Linked DNA regions of Homo sapiens: regions 1, 2, 3, 4, 5 and 7 are each linked to region 6. Evidence: promoter capture Hi-C in 16 types of primary human blood cells and fetal thymus (Javierre and others, 2016). All regions are on one chromosome and are shown on one strand. The core of a region is centred on a gene start or on the middle of the fragment in contact, and the rest is flanking DNA. Distances in the headings are between cores, read along the strand shown. Region 1 has its middle 170 kb from the start of ATP5MC3. Region 2 overlaps LINC01116 (long intergenic non-protein coding RNA 1116). Region 3 has its middle 110 kb from the start of ATP5MC3. Region 4 has its middle 180 kb from the start of LINC01117. Region 5 has its middle 250 kb from the start of ATP5MC3. Region 6 holds the start of HOXD12 (homeobox D12). Region 7 has its middle 200 kb from the start of ATP5MC3.

Region 1 (2,700 bases), core at 39-2,538, 750 kb after region 6:
CACATCAAAAGATTTAATTAATTTGATCTTTCATTAGCTAAGGGGGAAAAATGCAGACAAAAAAGGATATGGTAAAAAAAAGAAAAGAAAAAATTTAATTCACTAAATTACCCAAATTATACATATCCTATGAGAACATTGGAAAGATTACCTCTATCAGGGTGAGCACCATTTAAAGTATTGTTATAAATTGTTCAAATCCTAGATTGTAGATCTATTTTGGAACTTTCAGGAGAGATGCATTAATATATATTTTTGTTCTTCAGAGGTATCCTTATATGTAAAAAGAATGGTGGCACTTCTGACATGTGATTTCAGGAAAAAAAATCTACATTCATTACACCATATATATATTATCCCACTCCTCATTAAACTTCCTAAGGAATTTTATATTCTTACCATTTTATACATAAGAAAACTGAAGCCCAGAAAATTTTAGCGCATTGCCCAAGATCACAGAATTCTAAACCAGGTCCATCTATCTGCCTGCAATGCCCTGTTGATACTATGTTGCCTTCCTCGAGCTCCCAGCAGCTGTCCTCGGTCCAATTCAACATAAAGAACAAACCCCTATCTGCTGGGTCTAGTCCTTGGACTTCCTTCTCATGAATAAAGCCCTTTGCCCCATAAGCAGAGATAAGATTTAAAATTTTAAAGTCCCAGAAGACTATTTCCATGTGTTAATTTACATGAAGGCACAAATGTCTAATTTTACAAACTTTTTGTGAAGGGAAGTTTTGGTAGGAGTAAGGATCCTGTAGAAATGATTATTCATATCTACCCAGCACCCCTATAGAAGCCTCTCCCACCCCCAAGTAGTAATATAGTTTAGGCTGCATCACTTACTATTTTATTCCCTTGCCATAGCAATTGGTCCATGGGCTGGAACAATATCATATAGATTTTGAAGCCACATGCTACACACGGCAGCCTGGGTCCCTTAATAACTGCATGGAGCAGAGCCAGCTGCCCTCCCCTGTCTCAAGCCACCCCATCATCCTGTAATACCCACTCTACACTGTTGTGTAAGAAAAAGACTTTTTTTTTGTTAAAGCCATTGTATTTGGGGGTATATCTGTTATAAAAATTTAGCCTACAATAAATAATGACAGGTATCAGTAAATGTTAATTTTATTACCACCTCCGTTCCTAGATTTTCCCCTTTAGAATGCTTCAAGGTTCCTGGTAATTTTATTAGGGTTCCTTTAAAATCATTATGAATCTACAACTATAGCAGATGTTATGGTTTGAATGTTCCTGCCAAAACTCATGTTGAAATTTAATTGCCATTATAACAATGTTGAGAGGCCCTACAAGAGGTGATTAGGGTCATGAGGGCTCTGTCTTCATGAATGAATTAATTTCATTATCTTGGGTTTGGGTTGATTATCAGGAGAATGGGTTTGTTATAAAAGTAAATTTGGCCTGATTTCCTCTCTCGGCCTCTCCTGCTCACTTCTACCTCTACCCTTCTGCTGTGGGATGACTGTCACCAGATGCTGGAGCCATGCTATTGGACTTTCCAGCCTCCAGAACCATGAACCAAGTAAACTTCTTTTCTTTATAAATAACTTAGTCTGTGGTATTCTGTTACAGAGGCAGAAAATTGACTAAGACAATAGATATGTAAAAGTGGCCACTTTTATAAATAATAAAAACAATTTAAATACCAAAATATATACATATTTTAAAAAATAAAAAATGAAAATATTCAATCATCTTCCTTTTACCAAATTTCTTTCCAGGCACCTAGGGTAAGGTTAGACTTACTAAAGAGCAACCTAATATGGAAAAAAATCAGTACTTTTTTTCTTTGATAGCAACCCAATACCTGAACTTAAGGAGAAAAAAATACTCCCCTTCTACTACATAAACATGTAAATAGTATCTCTTCTTCCATTTTTACTTCTCCACTGGAGAAGTCCATCAGACTATCCAGTTTATTAGTTGAAAAGCTAAACCAGAGTTTGGACTCCTGATTTATAAGTAATGAGTTTGGGAACTCTAATGTGACTTGTCTTCAGTGATTTGGGCCATATCTGACACTAGCTGCATACTTCCCTATCATAAATGACCCAGCATAAGTAAACCCAGTTACAGCACCTAACATCTCTTAGCAGATAAATTTGAAAAGACACATTGTGCATATCAGTAGCTTTAAACTTGGAATGCTTTGGATCCCAGAATTGAACTCAAAAGCCAATTTAACCCATAGTACAATGATTTTCCAAACGTGGTTCATGGACCAGCAGCATCAGCATCACCTGAGGCTTGAACCCCAGACCTATGGAATCAGAATTCTGGATTGTGGCCAAAGCTGCAATGCAAATGTATTGTCATAATTTACCAAAACACCAGACCTATGTGATCAAAAGTGAATTATACCAAGCACATATACCACCCAGATCTTCGTTTCTAATACTATTCTACGATAAAAGGAACCAGCTCTCCTTGGAAAAATGGCTGTTTCTAGCACTGCACAGGAAATATACAATATGAGCCTGGAACATCTTGTAACATCAGAAAGTAAGGAAGTGCTTTAAAAAATATAGAGATATGTAAAAAAAAAAAAATAGAGTAGCTAACTGAAAGAGCCAAGGCAGGAACAATTTGAGCAATAAAATCAAGAAATATTGAATTATATTGAAATGGGGTCTGTATTAAGGTAAATCATGTAAAATCAGGTAAAAATAATAGTTC
Region 2 (2,700 bases), core at 130-2,629, 530 kb before region 6:
CAATAATATCTACCTTAAAAGCATCAGGAGTATTTTAATTGGGCAATAACCATCCATATTTTCCTTCTGATAAATTAAAATGAATTAAGAATGAAATTTTATGATGATTATAAAGTATATTACTGACCCAAGGGACAAGAACAATTATGAAAAATATGTCCTACATATTTGGCATGAATATGAATTTAGACTTTAAACCATTCATCTTAAATGCTCAAGCATCTTATTAAAGCTTATAAAATAATATTCACATAATAACAGAGTAACTTATAATCATGATTGATATTATATCATCAATATTGCAGCAGGCTTTGTGCCAAATACTGAAATTGACTTGGTCTTTGCCTGTTGGACTTAGAATAAAAATAAATACATTATTAAAAAGATGAAACATGGTAAAAGATTTTGTGCATTTGAGATTTTTTTTTCTTTCTCCAATTAAAATTATTCACCATGAGAACGAAAGGTGATTTTTGAAAAACCTGGAAAACCTAGTGAGTTGGAATTGTACTACTAAATGTTGGAAGATCTGATCAAAATTTAACTTTAATAGCCAGCAGCTGTTTGAGGACAAGTTCACCTTACATGAATGTGGGTGGTCATTTGAGGGTAACCCACCAAGCTTAGCCTAGCGGTGGCCAGGCCCTAAAATAGGAGTCATCTTGGAGAGCAAGAGCATTTCTGTATTTGAGTTAATGCTACCCACCAGCAATCAAGATCAATTAACTCTTGTAGTAAACTTTTTAAATGAATTGGAGATGACTACAGAAATTGCCAAAGACAATGTGGGCAAAAATGGATGGGCTAAGTGAAGGGGCTGCCTGTATCAGCATTTACTTAGGCCCAGCCCCACAAAGCCCTAGCAGTTGCCATTCAGACACCTGTATGTTAACATTAAGACCTTTAGAGCATATGTTTAACTGTGAGTATTTTCTTCCACATAGGTATTGGCACTTTTTAGCATGACCTACCTTTGTGTGTCATGCTAAAAAGCATATATGACTAATAGAACACACACATTTAACTTATTATGGGCCTGGGTTTCCCGGGTTTCAGCTTCAGTGTATGTCCCCTGGCAGGTTTCTTAACTGGTCTGAGCCTAAGTTTCCTCATTTATAAAACAAAGGCAGTAAGTGGTGCCTTTTTGCAATATTAAAATTAGTATTAAATGGCATAACGTTCACAAAATATCTGGAACAGTTTGCCATCAGTAAATATCTGCTACTGCAGTTGCAAGGGAAAAACAAGATTGAATCTTTGTTCTCAGTTTCTCATTATATAAAATTTTAGAGATTATTTAAAGAAAAGAGAGAGAGCATCTAAATGAACAGTTTCAATAGCATCTTGTTTATATTCAGAAATACAGCCCTGAACTCAAACTTGAAACTTCAGTGTTAGCCAACCTTCCCTCCTCCCATCACCACCTGAAGGAAAATATCTTTGTGTAGCACAAAAGAACTTAATTCTAATTCTTTTTTTTTCCTTTTAAAACAGGGTCTCACTCTGCCATCACCCAGGCTGGAGTGTGGTGGCACCATCATGGCTCACTGCAGCCTTGAACTCCTGAGCTCAAGTCATCCTCCCACCTCAGCCTTCCGAGTAGCTGGAACTGCAGGTGTGAGCCACCATGCCTGGCTGATTTGTCTTTTTAAATTTTTTATAGAGACCGAGTCTCAACTATATTGTCCAGGCTGGAAAAGAACTTCTTTCCCTCCAAGTGATAACCTTTTCCAGACAAGTCAGCTTAAAAACTGACCCAAAGGCCCTGAAGTACACAGTTTTCTTGGAGAAAGAAAAAAATAAGTGAAAAGGACTTGCTGACTTGCTAATTCATTTTGGGGCCTGTGGGTAACATCAGAATGGCAAAGCACTTGGGGCTTTTTTCTAATTTGTATTTTTTTAATCTTCTGAGAAATGACTTTTATATGCCAAGATTCATTCCATGATTAGTTTTTATGACCAAGTTATGAACGCTTTTGAATATGGGGACCTAGAATAGAAATGCTAACCTACCTGCAAGGAGAGCTCTGTGATTGGCATCCCCATCATGCTGTAACTGACACAAAATAAACTTAGGGTAATTGCCGCATAGTGTAACTTTAATGTGTGAGCATACTGTAACATCTGACAAGCTTCTTGATCTAGATCAGCAATGTGTAACCCATTCATTGTTGTCACTCTCAACAAGGCCTTATGGTCAAACATCATCACTCTCACTAAAGAGATAGTTTACTGAAATATACTGAGATTTTGAAACTGGAGTCAAGAGGTAGCACACTGTTTTATGTTGATCCATTTAATGGTCCTTGACAGCCAATAAAAAGACACTGGAAGAATACGTGAATGCAGTAATTGTTAATAGGTCTATTGATAATATTTTCAACACCAGGTAGGGAGGGAGACAGGGAGGAGGAGGAAAGGAAGGAAGGGAGGAAAGGAGGAAGGGAGGAAGGGAGGGAGGGAGGGAGGAAGGGAGGGAGGGAATGCTCTGACATCTTACTCCAGAAATAGAGCTGTTTTTATATATTTTACTCCATTATTTTGGATATCAATACTGACCATACTGAGGTCTGTGGTCATTTACACAGTTGGCCAAATTTCACTGAAGTTTGTTTTTCAGATTCTACTAGGTGTTTTCATGTGGCAGTTGCCTAATTTTTTACTATATTTAAGATTTGTCCTTACGTTTTGGATATTCTG
Region 3 (2,700 bases), core at 1-2,500, 810 kb after region 6:
TCAGGAGTCTAATCTCATTTAAACCAGTAACTTTAATTTGATCCATAACATACACTATGTCCCTAAGTCTTACCTCTATATGTGGCCAAGAAAGTATAAATCAATCACTATTATCCATTATAAACACTAGAAAATAAATCAAAAGAAATGCCAAATTAGCAGTGGGTAGATAATAATTATATTTCTGTATAGTTCTAATAAATTAAGGTAGAAAAAATAATCAGAGCTCATTGTAAATTATACCAGTGAAAAATAAAAAGAAAACTTTTGTCTTTCTTTGATATTTAGTAACAACTATTTTGGGTGAAGTTCGTGGTCTTAAATTGAAAAAAAAAATAGGTCTGTTAGTTATTATAATTTTAAAAATTATGAAGTTTAGAAATAATTCTGTAATCTTAAACCAACAGTCAATGTTATACATAATTACAATACACTAGAGCATTTTTCTTGATAGCCAGTGGGGAAACATTTAAGGTTTTTAAGAGGTGTAATGTAGAGATCAAAACTGATGCCTTAAGAATTTGAATCTTACAGTAGCATAATGTATAAATGAAAATGGAGAAGAACTAGAGGTAGGAATACCAATTATGAATTTAAGTGTAGGGATTTCTGGTCAAGAGAGTGGAGTAGCTCACACCAAACACCCCTCGGCTCTACCTCACCACCACTATCACTATGACCTCGAAACAAGAAAGAAAGAGATAAAAATAAGAAGAGAAAATTTTTAAAAGGCAGAGTTATACTCAAAATCAAGACAAATATCTTGACAATGAGAATAGAAGGGGAATTAAATTCATGAGGGGGAAGGAAGACTGAACATTTCCCACAAGGGGAAGGGAATCAGAGATTGGATGGGGTTGCCCATCCCAGGAACAGAAGTTGAGGTTCTGGGATGAATGAGCAACATCCCCCCAGGGTAACAGCTCTAAGTTGCTCACATAACTTAAGACCTGGTTATGGGCTGGAGTCTGCAGGAGACAGCTACAAAATCACTAAAAGAAAGGCTGAGCTCAGGAAGAGAACAAATACAAACAAAATCAAATTTCCACTTAAAATGAGTTTGCAAATGAGAGTTACAAAGCACATAAAGAAAAATTCACCCAATGAAAGACAGTCAACAAACTCAAGGGACAGAAGAATTTACTTTTATTTTGGAAATTGAAACAATAGAGTAATTTTAAAAGAACATTTGTGAGATCCTCAGATATATTTTCTTTTAAAACAACAGTAGGTTATAAAATAAAGCAGGCAGCTCTGAATCAAGTGCAGGGATATTTAAAAGAAGATTCAGAAATCCTGGAAATGAATATAATCATTGCAATTTTATAAAACCCTTAAACAGATGGATAAATTTTAACTAGTCATAGTCAAAAAGAAAACTGGCACATCTGAACAGGAAAACGATTGCAAAAATTGAGGTAGAGGTAACAAACGTCGAAGTAAGGTAATGGCAGGAGAAATGTACAAGCTAAAAAACATTATAGAAGCATAGAAATAAGTAGGCTCTGCCACTGTTAGGCAGTATTCATTGAGACTTAATTCCATCTAAACCTTGCCAAAGGCTGACCGTGGCTATGGCCATTTGAAATTCTTCTATTTGTGGAGCCTCATTAATGCCAAAAGAGGACTGAAAAGATGAGAAGTAGACCTTCAGTCTGTCCATCAGCAGCCAACAAAAATAAAATGAACTTACAATGAAAATTCCTCGTTATTTGTGTCTGTAGCAATAAGAAATCTTTATTTAAGGATCAAGGAAGTTCATTAGAACTCTCCATTATCTGGCTGTTTTCTGCTTAAGTCCACAAATAAATAGTTTTAACATGAAATACTTACTACATATTTCTACATTTAGTATACATTATATATTTATTACATATTTACATGTTACTGTATTATTCCCTCTTACGTTTTAGGCCAGGCATGGTGACTCACGCCTGTAATCCCAGCACTTTGGGAGGCAGAGGCGGGCAGAACACGAGGTCAGGAAATCAACACCGTCCTGGCCAACATGGTAATACCCCATCTCTATTAAAAATATAAAAATTAGCTGGGTGTGGTGGTGCATGCCTGTAATCCCAGCTACTCGGGAGGCTGAGGCAGGAGAATTGCTTGAACCCAGGAGGCAGAGATTGCAGTGAGCTGAGATCGTGCCACTGCACTCCAGCCTGGTGACAGAGTGAGACTCCATCACAAAAAATAAATAAATAAATAAAAAGTTTTAGAATATCCTCCTTCGTATCAATAAAGTGATTACAAAATGATGAGTATTGGAGTATTGAGACTGTAAGAATTTTTTTTTAAAAGACAGAATTACAGTTTAGTTGAAAAGTTAACATGTAAAGTAAGAATGTGATAGAGAAAATGAAATTATTTATATTAAAACAAAGTTTAGAAATAAGTTAGAATTCCTTTAAAAAGAAACATTTTTCCAGCTCTACCACTAAAGATGTCCCGAGAGAAGCCGCAGCATCTTTGCTCAACTCTCAAGTTTTGAGGCAGGGAAAAATCAGAACAGACTTGGAGCATCCCAGAGTACTCAGACTTTAGTCTCCGATACTGTTCTTTATTAGAAAGAATCAGAACTACTTGGAGGATAGATGGTTCCATGTTTTGAGGCAGGGAAAAATCAGAACAGGCTTGGAACATCCCGATGCTGCCAGTCAGTAATTCTGGATGTTCTCAAGGACATCTGATGTCCTG
Region 4 (2,700 bases), core at 162-2,661, 720 kb before region 6:
CACCTCCCTCAAACACATTCTTGCAAAGTGAAATTAACTTTATGGGGTGTGCAATAATGTTTTTTGGATGGTTTTACATAATGTCCCTGAAGTTTTTAGACAAGTGACTTTTGAACAGCTATAAACTAGAGTTAGCATACACTTCTGGACTTCCTGGAACTTCAAAACTTGAGGTCGTGGGATCACTCATCTGAGAGTGGGTACATGCTTATCTCTGATCCCTTGATAGGGCCCAGTCTAAAGGAGGAAAAAGCTAACAAAATCAGTCTGACACAGTGATAGTTAAGAACTGAGATTTCAAATCCAGGCCGGTTCTGAGTTTGGATCTTGACTATCCACTTAAGAGCTTGTGTGACCTTGGGCAAGTTATAGAACATCTTTAATCTTTAATTTCCGATAGATGAGAATTAAAATAGTATTTGTCTCATAAGCTTGTGAGAATTAAAGGAAGTGATGATACTTAGCATAGTGCCTGGCTCATGTAGGTGGTCAGAAAACATTAACTGTTACTAGCAGCTGCTTTTGTTAATAGTTCAGGGTAACAAGCATGTAGAGTGTGAGCCACAAGCAAAGCACTGTGCTAGACACAGCAAAGTATGTGTGTATGAGAGAGAGAGAGAATTAGGATGTAAGAGTATAGTGGAGCGAGAAGAAGCAGGATAGAAAAAACACAAAGATAGCTAAACATAGATAACTAAAATGAAACAGGTAACATTTATTTGTGGGCATACTCTGTGAAAGGCACTGCATAGATAGATCTTTACATAATTGATCTCATTTAATGTTCACATGACCCTCTGGGTAGGCATTATTATCTTCATTTTATATTTGAAGAAAATAAGCCTTAGATCAATTAACCTGCAGTGGCTAACACATGGAGCTAGGGAAGTGGAGGGAGTATCGGGCTGTGAGGTTAAGCTTGACTGGAGCACAGGAGAGGACTGGCTGTGTGGTATGTTCCCAGGTGTTCCAGGGAAGCCTCGATTACCAGCACAGGTGGTCATTGCCCATACAGAGTCCAAGACCATCTGTAATTTTGGCCACACAGTCCTTAATGATGTGCTATTTGACGAAGAAATAGGAGACTACCTTGAGGCGGACACCATGTCTTTGAGATACTGAAAGACTAAAAAACACATTCAGGATGTGCTGAAGCACAGCTTCAAATCACGCAGCAAATCTACGACATGCCAGGAAATGGCAGCCAATGGCAAACCAGCCCTGTCTGAGGGCCACTGGTGAAAATGTCATGGTGTTCCATGGTTGACCACTAGATGAAGCCCTGCTGGGCAGGATACCACCACCTGGGGAGGATAATGGTTGAAACCCAAACCAACCCCTCCTCATCCCTGCACCTCCACAACCTAGAGAAGATTTTAGGATGTGTATTCATCTTTCCAACACTATAAGGCTAAGACCACCACCAATAGCATAGATCCCATTCCCACTAATATGCTTTATTATGAGTTCAGAGAAAATATAAAGTATAAGGAAACCTGAAAACTTCCAGGTCCTTCTAGACTTTTGTCCCATTAACACTTTGGGGGAAAAAGCAATCTCCATGTAAAATCTCCATTAAAATAACCTTGTGGGCTTATCTGAAATTAGCACCTTCACAGTTTTTGTTCTGACTGTTGGTTTAGTTTGCCTACTGTGCCTTGATCTTATACTTGATATGCCTCTCTAATCAGATAAGAAAATAGTTGAAGCATTTTTGGACTGTAGACCAACATTAATGTTATTCAAAAATAGGAGTTAGGCATGGGGCTCAGATTTTTACCTTTTTTATTTGTGTATGATTTAGTGTTCATCCTGCACTAGACACTAAAATGCATTGTTTAATTATCTGAGCTCAACACACCATTTTATAATTCATTAGTCAGTTGCTCTTTGCAAAAGCTTATTTCTTATGAAACAAAAGTGGGAATCATGCAACTGGACTATTTATCTCTCTTTAGGGGTTGGGGGTTAATATCTGATAGCTCATAACATCTTTATTATAATGCATTTATAATGATTTACTGGAATCATTCTATGGCTAAGTATCTAATGTCAAAGCTGGGATCTGGCATGAAATAAAATGCTGTATCCTTGGGTAGCTCTAGGGAAAAAAAGGCCCCAGCCAATATTTTCTGTGTAATTCTACAAACTGTAATAAGGGTAGGGGTAATTGCCTTAATGTCAATTAAGCTATTAATAATGTTCATCTTGTCATTCCTAAATATAGCAGTGTCTCAATCATACATTACTGTCCCCTGTTAAGGCTACACAGAAATGAGATCACAGCCTCTGTGGATCAAGAAGTCTGTCTAGCAGCCAGTCTTATTTCCTTTACATAAGGGAAGGTTTGGGGGTTTATTTGGTGTTAATGAAAAATTTCTACTTAGACACACATATGTATTTGTGAGGACAAGCTCTGGTGATTCTTGTGAGCAGGACAAATTCAGTCTTAGAAGCTAAACTGTTCCCTGTTCCTATTCTGCTCCTGATGACCATGAAAGGTGCTCCTGATCAGGACTCGTGTTCCAGGGTCCCGATAAGGTCTGAGGACCCAGACAGTTCAGTAGCAATCATACATGCATTTTAGCAAAGTGTGTGGGAACTAACAAAGTTAGGGAGCACTTGTTCAAGCTACACATAGTGCTGCGTTGTGTGCGTGTTGTTCCCAGGCCACGTGGATGCACGCAAGTTCCTCAAGGA
Region 5 (2,753 bases), core at 32-2,531, 660 kb after region 6:
CTGCTTGCATCATATTTGTTAGTGTAAATTGGCCCAAACAAGTCACAAAGCCAAGCCGTGTGCAAGGGAACCAACCAAGGGCATGGATAAAGAAAGGTAGATACTTTGTGGCCATCTTTACAATCTCCACATTTCTTCTATTGTCTGGAAGAAGCACAGCATTTGTCTTAAGAGGGCATTTTGAGGAGACCTCCATTATTTCCATATATCAGAAAAAGACAATTAGAAACCCCCCAAAAATTAAAACTTGAGGTGTCTCCAGTTTAGCAGAGGAAATTCAAAAGAGCTCTCAGAAATAAGTAACAAGTCTACTTGGCAGTGAATAAAGGAAGTAGCTCATTTAGACTCTAATTATATTATACATATATATGTAATGTTCAGAGATTAGTCTTATTATTCAAAATAAGACTCTGAACATGTATATATTACATATATATAGTGTATACACACACCCACACGTTTCTATGTGATTCATTCAAATGTTTCTGTTTCTGCAAACATTTATTTTAAAAATGTGTATCAGACTGAAGTAGGTACTGAGAGTACAAATGTAGTTCTCTGCCCTCATGAAGCTTGGAGTCTAGCCGGCAAGACAGAGAATAAGAATTACATATTCACAATTTTCACAATGCTGCAAAGGGAAGATCCAGGGAGGATGGCACAAGGTCCCAGCCCAGTTACAGGGATGGTGGGAGTCTTCTCTGAGCCCTGAAAGATAAGCTGAGTCCTCCAAGTGAAGAAGAGGAGGAAAGGAAGGCTAGGCAGAGACCAGCATGAGAGGGAGAAACCCTTAAATGGGCTGTGTGGAAAGGTCTTCATTTTCTAATGACATGAATTAGATGATATGAGACATAAGAAAGTGCACTATTAACTGAACTAAGCTATATACACGTAAGTGCAATGTTGTAATCAACCATGTATTGCTCAATGTCAAACAGCATTTTCTAATTTATGGTTCTTACTGTTTATTCAATAACCAGAATGCATTAGATCAGGGTGCATGACAACCATCCCAACCCCCTCAACCCAGCTGTCTTACCTATGCTCAGTAAACCCACACAGGTAAGGGTCTTGTGAGGCCCTCACAGGGACTCATAATCTCTAAACATTTAGATTTTCAGGTTTTCCTGAAAAAACAAGAGATCTGGCAAAACTCAGATCTCATTTCCACATGGCAACAATTGGTAGAAGCTGCTCTGTTTAGTGCGGACACACTCTAGTTTGACAAATCTCTCCAGCCCCATTATTTCCTGCCTGGCCTGTGTGAGTATCTGTGTTTGCAGCTCCTAGATATTTCTCTGCCATAGGTATTTATTTTAAATGTAACTAACAATAATCGTACCCAGAAAACACTTTCAGATCTTGAATGATAATGGTTTTTGTTTGTTTTGTAGAAACAGGTTCTTGCTATGTTGCTCAAGCTGGTCTCGAACTCCTAGCTTCAAGCAATCTTCCTTCCTCAGCTTCCCAAAATGCTAGGATTACAAGCATGAGCCACCACGCCCAACCTTGAATGGCATTGTTAAGTCAGCATACATGGCTGCCATTTTTCTTATTTTCTTTCTTTTGTGATATTTTTGCTTTCTTTATAGAATTTTGATCTGTCATTGTCACAGTTAGAGTTAGTGAATAAAACGTGTGCCTATCACATCCAAAACAATTAGTTTTAAGCAGACCATTATAAGTATTTTCATAATTTTATTCATAGGACAATATGCTTACTTTATAACAATAAATCAGTCTGTGTTCCTTACTTTTTTCTTGTTTCATTTTGAAGTTTCTAATCTTTCAGGGTAATTACTATAATGACTGAAGGCATTTTTAAAGATTATTTCTTTAAGTTATGCTTCACATTTGTAAGGTGAATCAGAAATATAAACAATTATATGACTACATGACATATTTGTAATATGCCTATTTAATTGATTTTTAAAACCCACTTATAAGATTATTGCTATAGATGTTCTGCTTACGATAAATGTAAGCTTTTTCAAGATTTCACCACCTGCTTTATTTCCAGGCCCTCCTTTCATCTCTTATCTAAATCCTATTCATGTAGTCTGGTGGCGGACATTTCAGGGGTCTGACATCATTATTACGTTTTGAGAAATAACTTTAAGACAAACTTTACATTATACCCAGAATTAGCCATTCTATCAGCTTTTGTCATACTTTGTCTTAGGACAAATGGCATTTCTGTAGAAAGATGCCTGGCGGGATGTGGCTTTGAACTCCTTCATTCCCTAGACTCCTTTAAACATGTAGAGGAGGAATAAGGGTAATTTACTTCCTTACTGAGCTTGACAAACTAGTATTTTATGTAACTACTCCAATATGTAGTTTTAAAAATACTTTAAGGGCAATGTCCATCTCCTCCAAATAAAAATTATTATTACTGTAGATGAAATGCAATTAGGAAATTTTGTCTTCGTTTAACAACTTTAATGGTATGGATATAAAGGACGGATCATTGCTATGCAGCTAGGATAAACACGGAACTAAAGATTTATGTTTCGGCCCGGCGCGGTGGCTCACGCCTGTAATCCCAGCACTTTGGGAGGCCGAGGCGGGTGGATCATGAGGTCAGGAGATCGAGACCATCCTGGCTAACAAGGTGAAACCCCGTCTCTACTAAAAATACAAAAAAAATTAGCCGGGCGCGGTGGCGGGCGCCTGTAGTCCCAGCTACTCGGGAGGCTGAGGCAGGAGAATGGCGTGAACCCGGGAAGCGGAGCTTGCAGTGAGCCGAGATT
Region 6 (2,700 bases), core at 45-2,544:
AAAAATCCAGGTACCGGGGAGCAAGAATGAGCGGTGGGTGCAAATGCCCCAGCCAGGAGCAAGGAGAGTTGGCCTCAGTCCCCCAACGTGGAAGCCTTAAGGCCAGCCAGAGTTGCACTGGTACTTCCGCACGTTTCTCACGGGCTTCTCAGGGACTGAGGAAAGCAAGGAGGCCCAACTGGCCTGGTCTGTAAATCTCTTGGTGGCTTCTGGGGCCAGCAGAGAAGGAACCGAAGGAAAAGCCTTAGCCTTAGCCCCAGATCCCCCTCCCCAAACAAGGCCTCTGTCCAAAAGGGCAGATCCAACCCGGCCCTGGCCACGCGCGCGGCTAGTAGAGCGCCAGCGCCTGCTCCCGAAGCACCACGCGCTTCTTCTTCATACGCCTGTTCTGGAACCAGATTTTGACTTGCTGGTCGCTGAGGTTCAGCCTATTGGACAATTCCTTGCGTTTCTGCCTGTTGATGAATTCGTTGACGAGGAATTCGTTCTCCAACTCCGCAATCTGCTGCTTCGTGTAGGGTTTCCGCTTCTTGCGGGCCCTCCCCGGGGCCGCCCCCCACGGCAGGCCTGCAACACAGCCCCAACCCACGTCAACCCAGCCCGTACTCTGTCTATTGCCCGCCCCCAGGCGGTTCACCTCCCCTTACACTCTCCCTTGAACCCCACCTCCCATCCCGGCCCAAACCGGCCCGGGGAGCATGGGCACCGTTTACCGTCGGGCAGTGAAGGTCGCAGGCAAGAGGCAACGCCCGCCGCCTGCACTGTCATGTTCAAGTTGAGCGGGCCCTTGGTGTCGTCCTTGAAGCCAGGGGCGCAGGGAGCCCCCTGGAGCAGGGTCGTGGAGCCCGGCGTGGCACGACCCACACCAGCGTAGTCATACTTGGCCGCTTTGAGAGCAGCCACTGCAGGAGCCAGGCTAGACTCGGGGGCGAAGGACGGCCGGGTACGACCGCGCTCCTCTGGCCCAGCGGCCGCTTCGGGCGCATAGAACTTAGCCTGCTCTTCGGGTCCGTCTTTGGCTGTTGGGGGCTGCAGGCCGAGAGGCCCGGAGCCAGCCAGGTAGGGCTGCGAGAAGCCGCCGAAGGCAGTGGCGCCCGCAGGCTGCGCGGGGGCGCAGGAGGCGGGCGTGGCGGCCCAGGGCAGCGCGCCGCGCGGGTAGGAGATAGGGGGAAGCGCGGCCAACTGGCCGCCATTCGGCCTCAGGTTGGAGAAGTAGAAAGAGTCTGGCGACTGCAGATTCAGAAGCGAGCCCACATAGCCCGCTCTGTAGAGACTGCGCTCACACATCTCCAACAAAGGGCTTCGGCTGCGCTCGCAACAGTATTTAGTTACAACCGGGAATAAGAGGACAGGCTCAGACGATTGGACGAAACTTTGCCTGCAGGTTCTTCAAAGCCGGTCATTTCAGCACCGCCTACATCCCCCCGACCCGTTTTCCCCCCCTTCAGAGTATTATGATAACACCCGCAATGTTCGATGGCGAAGGACGAGGCTGCCAGCAGAGCCAAATCAGGTTGAGCGAAGACTAACTGTCTGCGGGTTTCCAGGCCCGGCTTCAGCAGCTGGGGACATCGGGCAAGAGGGTGACTCTGCCCAAGTGTCCCCTGGGACTCTTCTTGGTCGTGATTGGCTTTGCGATTCGTTTTCCGCAGGCTTTCTGGGCCCGGCTTGCTTCTACCGGCTTTAAGTTGCAGCGGAGGCATTTTCCATTAACCGGCGCCTCTCGACTTATCCGGAGAGGGCGCGGTCCGGCGGCACCAGGAGCTCTGTCCCTTGGCCTGAGCAATGTCACTTTTACCCCAATCACTCCCACAGAGAGGGTTTCTCCAGAGACCTCTGCCTGAGGATCTGGCAGCAAAGACCCATTCGCTACTTGAGCCCTCAGTCCCAGGCCGCAGACACAAAAAGGGCATCACAAACTACCCAATTTTGGGATCCAGGAAGGAGGCCACACTATTTCTGGTTTGTGTCCCCATGGCTAAGAACTCTGATCATAGGGAAATTGCCATACAGGTCCATGGAGAATGTCCGCCAGGGAACCCATCAGCTCGATCCACCAATCGTGGCCAAAGGCTACATTCCTTTTATCTTCAGGAGTCCTCTCCAGGACTACACACTGCAAACCAGAACTCCGAGGTGTCCCCATCCACCAAGTGGAGGGCAAAGCAGGACGAACTCCCCCGACTGGGTGTGGAAAGGCAGAAGAGCCAGAACCACCTGGCCGGGGAACAGCGGGCGTTCGGAGGCAGCTGGCTAGCAGAGTTCCTTGCCTCAGCGCCCCCAGGGGTGCCGGGGATAGGGAGTTCACGGGTCTGACAAACAGGGAAGTGGGAAAGGCAGCAGTTCTTAGCCGGGAGCGGTGTGCTCAGACCCCGTCGCTGGCCCTCTTGCCTAGTCCGGCCAGAGGACTAGGGGTCCTCCCCTCCTGCCTCTGATCCCAAGACCCTGGGAGACCCGGTGACCGGCGCCAGTCTCAGCCTGCAGCAGGACCCTCGGTCTCCGAGCCAAGCTGGAATTGGTTAGATCGCGGGCTCCTGCACTGAGACCACACAGGCGCCGCCGGAGGGCAAGACTGACCGCCGCGCTGCCACTTTATTGTGTGAGTTATGGCGACCAATTGGGTGGCTCTGGGGAACGCAATCGGCCTCTTCCTCCTGCTCTGGTGGGGGGGAGAGAGGGAGTGAGGACGGGGGGGTGGGG
Region 7 (2,700 bases), core at 122-2,621, 720 kb after region 6:
GGTCTCATTTTTCCCCATGTTGTAATGTTCCCAGGTAGATTAAGATTCCGGCCAGGCGCGGTGGCTCACACCTCTAATCCCAGCACTTTGGGAGGCCAAGATGGGCAGATCACCTGAGGTCAGGAGTTCGAGACCAGCCTGACCAACATGGAGAAACCTCGTCTCTACTAAAAACATAAAATTAGCCAGGCATGGTGGTACACGTCTGTAATCCCAGCTACTCAGGAGGCTGAGGCAGGACAATCGCTTGAACCTGGAAGGCGGAGGTTGTGGTGAGCCGAGATCTCGCCATTGCACTCCAGCCTGGGCAACAAGAGTGAAACTCTATCTCAAAAACAAAAGATTCCTTATATGCAGGAAACCATGGCTCATACTTCTTTTTCTCACTTGAACATAGCTGGACACATCATCATCAATAAGTATGTATTTATTTATAAGTTCATCTTCAATTTCTAAGGAAACAAAAATATAGTTTGTTGTTAAAATACACACACAGAGAAATATGAGTTTATTCCCATACTATACTATTGTTCAATGTATTTTGGGTTTGGATCCAACAATTAAGGATCTATCTATGGGTCTGCATAAAACTATTTCTTCCCATTACCCCATTCCAACAATAAAAGTCATCATGATTTAAATTCAATAAATTACAGTATCCCTATTTTACCCCTGGAATATTCATGGCACCCACTGATCTTCTAGGGCATGGCAGCTGGGATAAGGAGCTCCAAGAAGAGCAATCATACTTCCTGTCTCCCTATTCATTGTCCGTCTTCCTAGCATGTAAGTACTCCCTCCTCAGTCATCTCCCAAAGAAATCTGATGGACAGCTGTCTCTGGAGGTACTCAGAACCCATTCATGAAAGGCAGGAAGTGGCATAAACAAACAAAAGCTATTTTAATGGACTGAACTGACTTCCAAACTTCAACAAAATACATTTTACTTTGGTTTGTTTTCACATTCTAAAGAGCAATTGTGACAGTTTTGGTCTTTATCTCCATGCAACTCTGCCTTCATGGATGGAGACTGACAAAAATTATCTGAAATTTCATAGCTACTGGGTGTTAAAAAGTATGCACACAGTAAACAAACTCATTCTTGTGGGCAGAGAGTTCTGACTTTTATTGGTTTCTGAAGTTAAAAACTACTTAATAACCCCGTCTTTGTTTTTCTATGGGTAGTATTTATACCCCAAAGTAGAAGTTAGGATAAAGCATTCCTTTAGAGATTACCTTAGTAAGCCTGCCCTGCAAATCCTAAGGACCTAGAACATGTTCTAAAATTATGTTTCAAAATTGGATTTGTCTAAGTTTTAAACATCTAGCTCTAACCTTATATCCCCTCATTTTGAGCTTTAACCACTATTCAGTATTTATGGAAAACAGCTCTAAGTTAATGAAAGAGAATATATACCATTAAAAATCTATATGCCGATTAGATTTATAGGGCATAATTCAATAATTTTTTATAAAGCAATAAAAACACTTGCCAACTCTCATGAAAAACAACCATATGTTTTGGTTTTAATAATGAAAATGTTTTATAAATAAGCTCCAATTATGGTCTGTATTATTTGAAAAGCATTGAATCTTTTCCTCTTCCAAGTATATTTTTTCTCTATTTTTTGAGGCAGTCTTAATAATTTACATGTAAATTTATAGTATTTCCAGGGTCTTTTTTAACCACAAAAAAGACATTCACTTTTTTTTCTTTTAGTTTCCAGTGTTCCCTAAAAGGACACTTTTAAGTTAGATGACTAATATATCAATTATTATTTATCTTTCTAAGAATTACTTTTATCTGTGGATTTCAAAGCAAATTAAATCATAACCACAGATTATTCTATCAAATTTAAGGACAGATTCATTCCATGAATTAATATGCCCATTTAAATTATATGAAAATAAAACTTTTGATGTATTTTATATATCCCCATATCAGTTATGTGTAAGTATAAAATACTGCCATATTCTTTCTGGAAAACAACTTGGTAATATGTATTAAGAGCCTCAAAAAGGTTCTTGCCCTTTGACCCAATGTCTATCATAAGGACATAATCACCAAGGCTTACCAAAATTTCAATATGACTGTTTATTACAGTGTTATTTACAATAGTAATAAACTAGAAATATCGGCAATGTCCAACAATATAGGCCTGGTTAAGTGGCTTATGGTCAATCCATTTGATGGAAACTGTACAAACATTAAAATTAAAGTTTTAAAAGAACATTTAAAGCATGAAGAAATGCTTATGAAAAACGTCAAGTTAAAAAAAGACAAAACTGTATATGCTAGTGTTTGACAGTTTTACAAAATTGGAATTATGGTCTATATACCATAAATGGACAAGAATGGGCACACAAGAATGGAAACACACCAAAATATTGATCTCGGTTTTCTTTGAGTAGCAGGATTATGAGTCATTTAGAAGTTTCTCTTTGTATTTTTCATATTTTCTACAATGAATATCTATGATTTTTATAATCAGAAATGTTATTAAAAATAATATTGCAAAAAGTCTAGCAAAAAAGTTATAGCTGAATAAATAATATTGAAGAAAATGACTTACTGAGATAGAAAGTTGTTTATATATAAGCGAAAAAAGTATGTCAAAAACATTTTGCATAATACGCTCCAATTTTTAAGTATATATATGAATTTGCATAGAAAAAAGTTGGAAGGATATTTTTATATAA

What was found. The method cuts DNA at HindIII sites, captures the fragments that hold promoters and counts their contacts. A CHiCAGO score of 5 or more calls a contact.
Region 1: a fragment that was not itself captured here is called in contact with the fragment with the promoter of HOXD12 in region 6 in 2 of 17 cell types (M0 macrophages and monocytes); the score reaches 6.9 in M0 macrophages.
Region 2: a contact is called between a fragment that was not itself captured here and the fragment with the promoter of HOXD12 in region 6, in 2 of 17 cell types (fetal thymus and total B cells). The highest score is 9.3, in fetal thymus.
Region 3: a fragment that was not itself captured here is called in contact with the fragment with the promoter of HOXD12 in region 6 in 1 of 17 cell types (M2 macrophages); the score reaches 5.1 in M2 macrophages.
Region 4: a fragment that was not itself captured here is called in contact with the fragment with the promoter of HOXD12 in region 6 in 1 of 17 cell types (endothelial precursors); the score reaches 5.2 in endothelial precursors.
Region 5: a fragment that was not itself captured here is called in contact with the fragment with the promoter of HOXD12 in region 6 in 1 of 17 cell types (M1 macrophages); the score reaches 5.1 in M1 macrophages.
Region 7: a fragment that was not itself captured here is called in contact with the fragment with the promoter of HOXD12 in region 6 in 4 of 17 cell types (monocytes, M2 macrophages, megakaryocytes and 1 more); the score reaches 7.3 in monocytes.

The regions. Positions count from the first base shown.
Region 1 is chr2:175,346,108-175,348,807 of GRCh38, reverse strand. No RefSeq gene overlaps it. Among named protein-coding and RNA genes, the nearest start is that of ATP5MC3, 170 kb to the right of the region's middle. The HindIII fragment of the contact is 3,400 bases long and covers 1-2,700 here.
Region 2 is chr2:176,629,227-176,631,926 of GRCh38, reverse strand. LINC01116 (long intergenic non-protein coding RNA 1116) reads left to right here. Exons shown (of 5, transcript NR_188023.1): 3 at 1,495-1,615. Among named protein-coding and RNA genes, the nearest start is that of LINC01116, 7.0 kb to the left of the region's middle. The HindIII fragment of the contact is 1,510 bases long and covers 625-2,134 here.
Region 3 is chr2:175,286,862-175,289,561 of GRCh38, reverse strand. No RefSeq gene overlaps it. Among named protein-coding and RNA genes, the nearest start is that of ATP5MC3, 110 kb to the right of the region's middle. The HindIII fragment of the contact is 5,516 bases long and covers 1-2,700 here.
Region 4 is chr2:176,820,109-176,822,808 of GRCh38, reverse strand. No RefSeq gene overlaps it. Among named protein-coding and RNA genes, the nearest start is that of LINC01117, 180 kb to the right of the region's middle. The HindIII fragment of the contact is 981 bases long and covers 921-1,901 here.
Region 5 is chr2:175,433,382-175,436,134 of GRCh38, reverse strand. No RefSeq gene overlaps it. Among named protein-coding and RNA genes, the nearest start is that of ATP5MC3, 250 kb to the right of the region's middle. The HindIII fragment of the contact is 1,413 bases long and covers 575-1,987 here.
Region 6 is chr2:176,098,389-176,101,088 of GRCh38, reverse strand. HOXD12 (homeobox D12) reads right to left here and starts at 1,294. Exons shown (of 2, transcript NM_021193.4): 1 at 714-1,294; 2 at 1-567. The coding sequence starts at 1,287. The coding sequence ends at 329. RefSeq lists an enhancer at 707-1,439. The HindIII fragment of the contact is 6,365 bases long and covers 1-2,700 here.
Region 7 is chr2:175,379,768-175,382,467 of GRCh38, reverse strand. No RefSeq gene overlaps it. Among named protein-coding and RNA genes, the nearest start is that of ATP5MC3, 200 kb to the right of the region's middle. The HindIII fragment of the contact is 5,863 bases long and covers 1-2,700 here.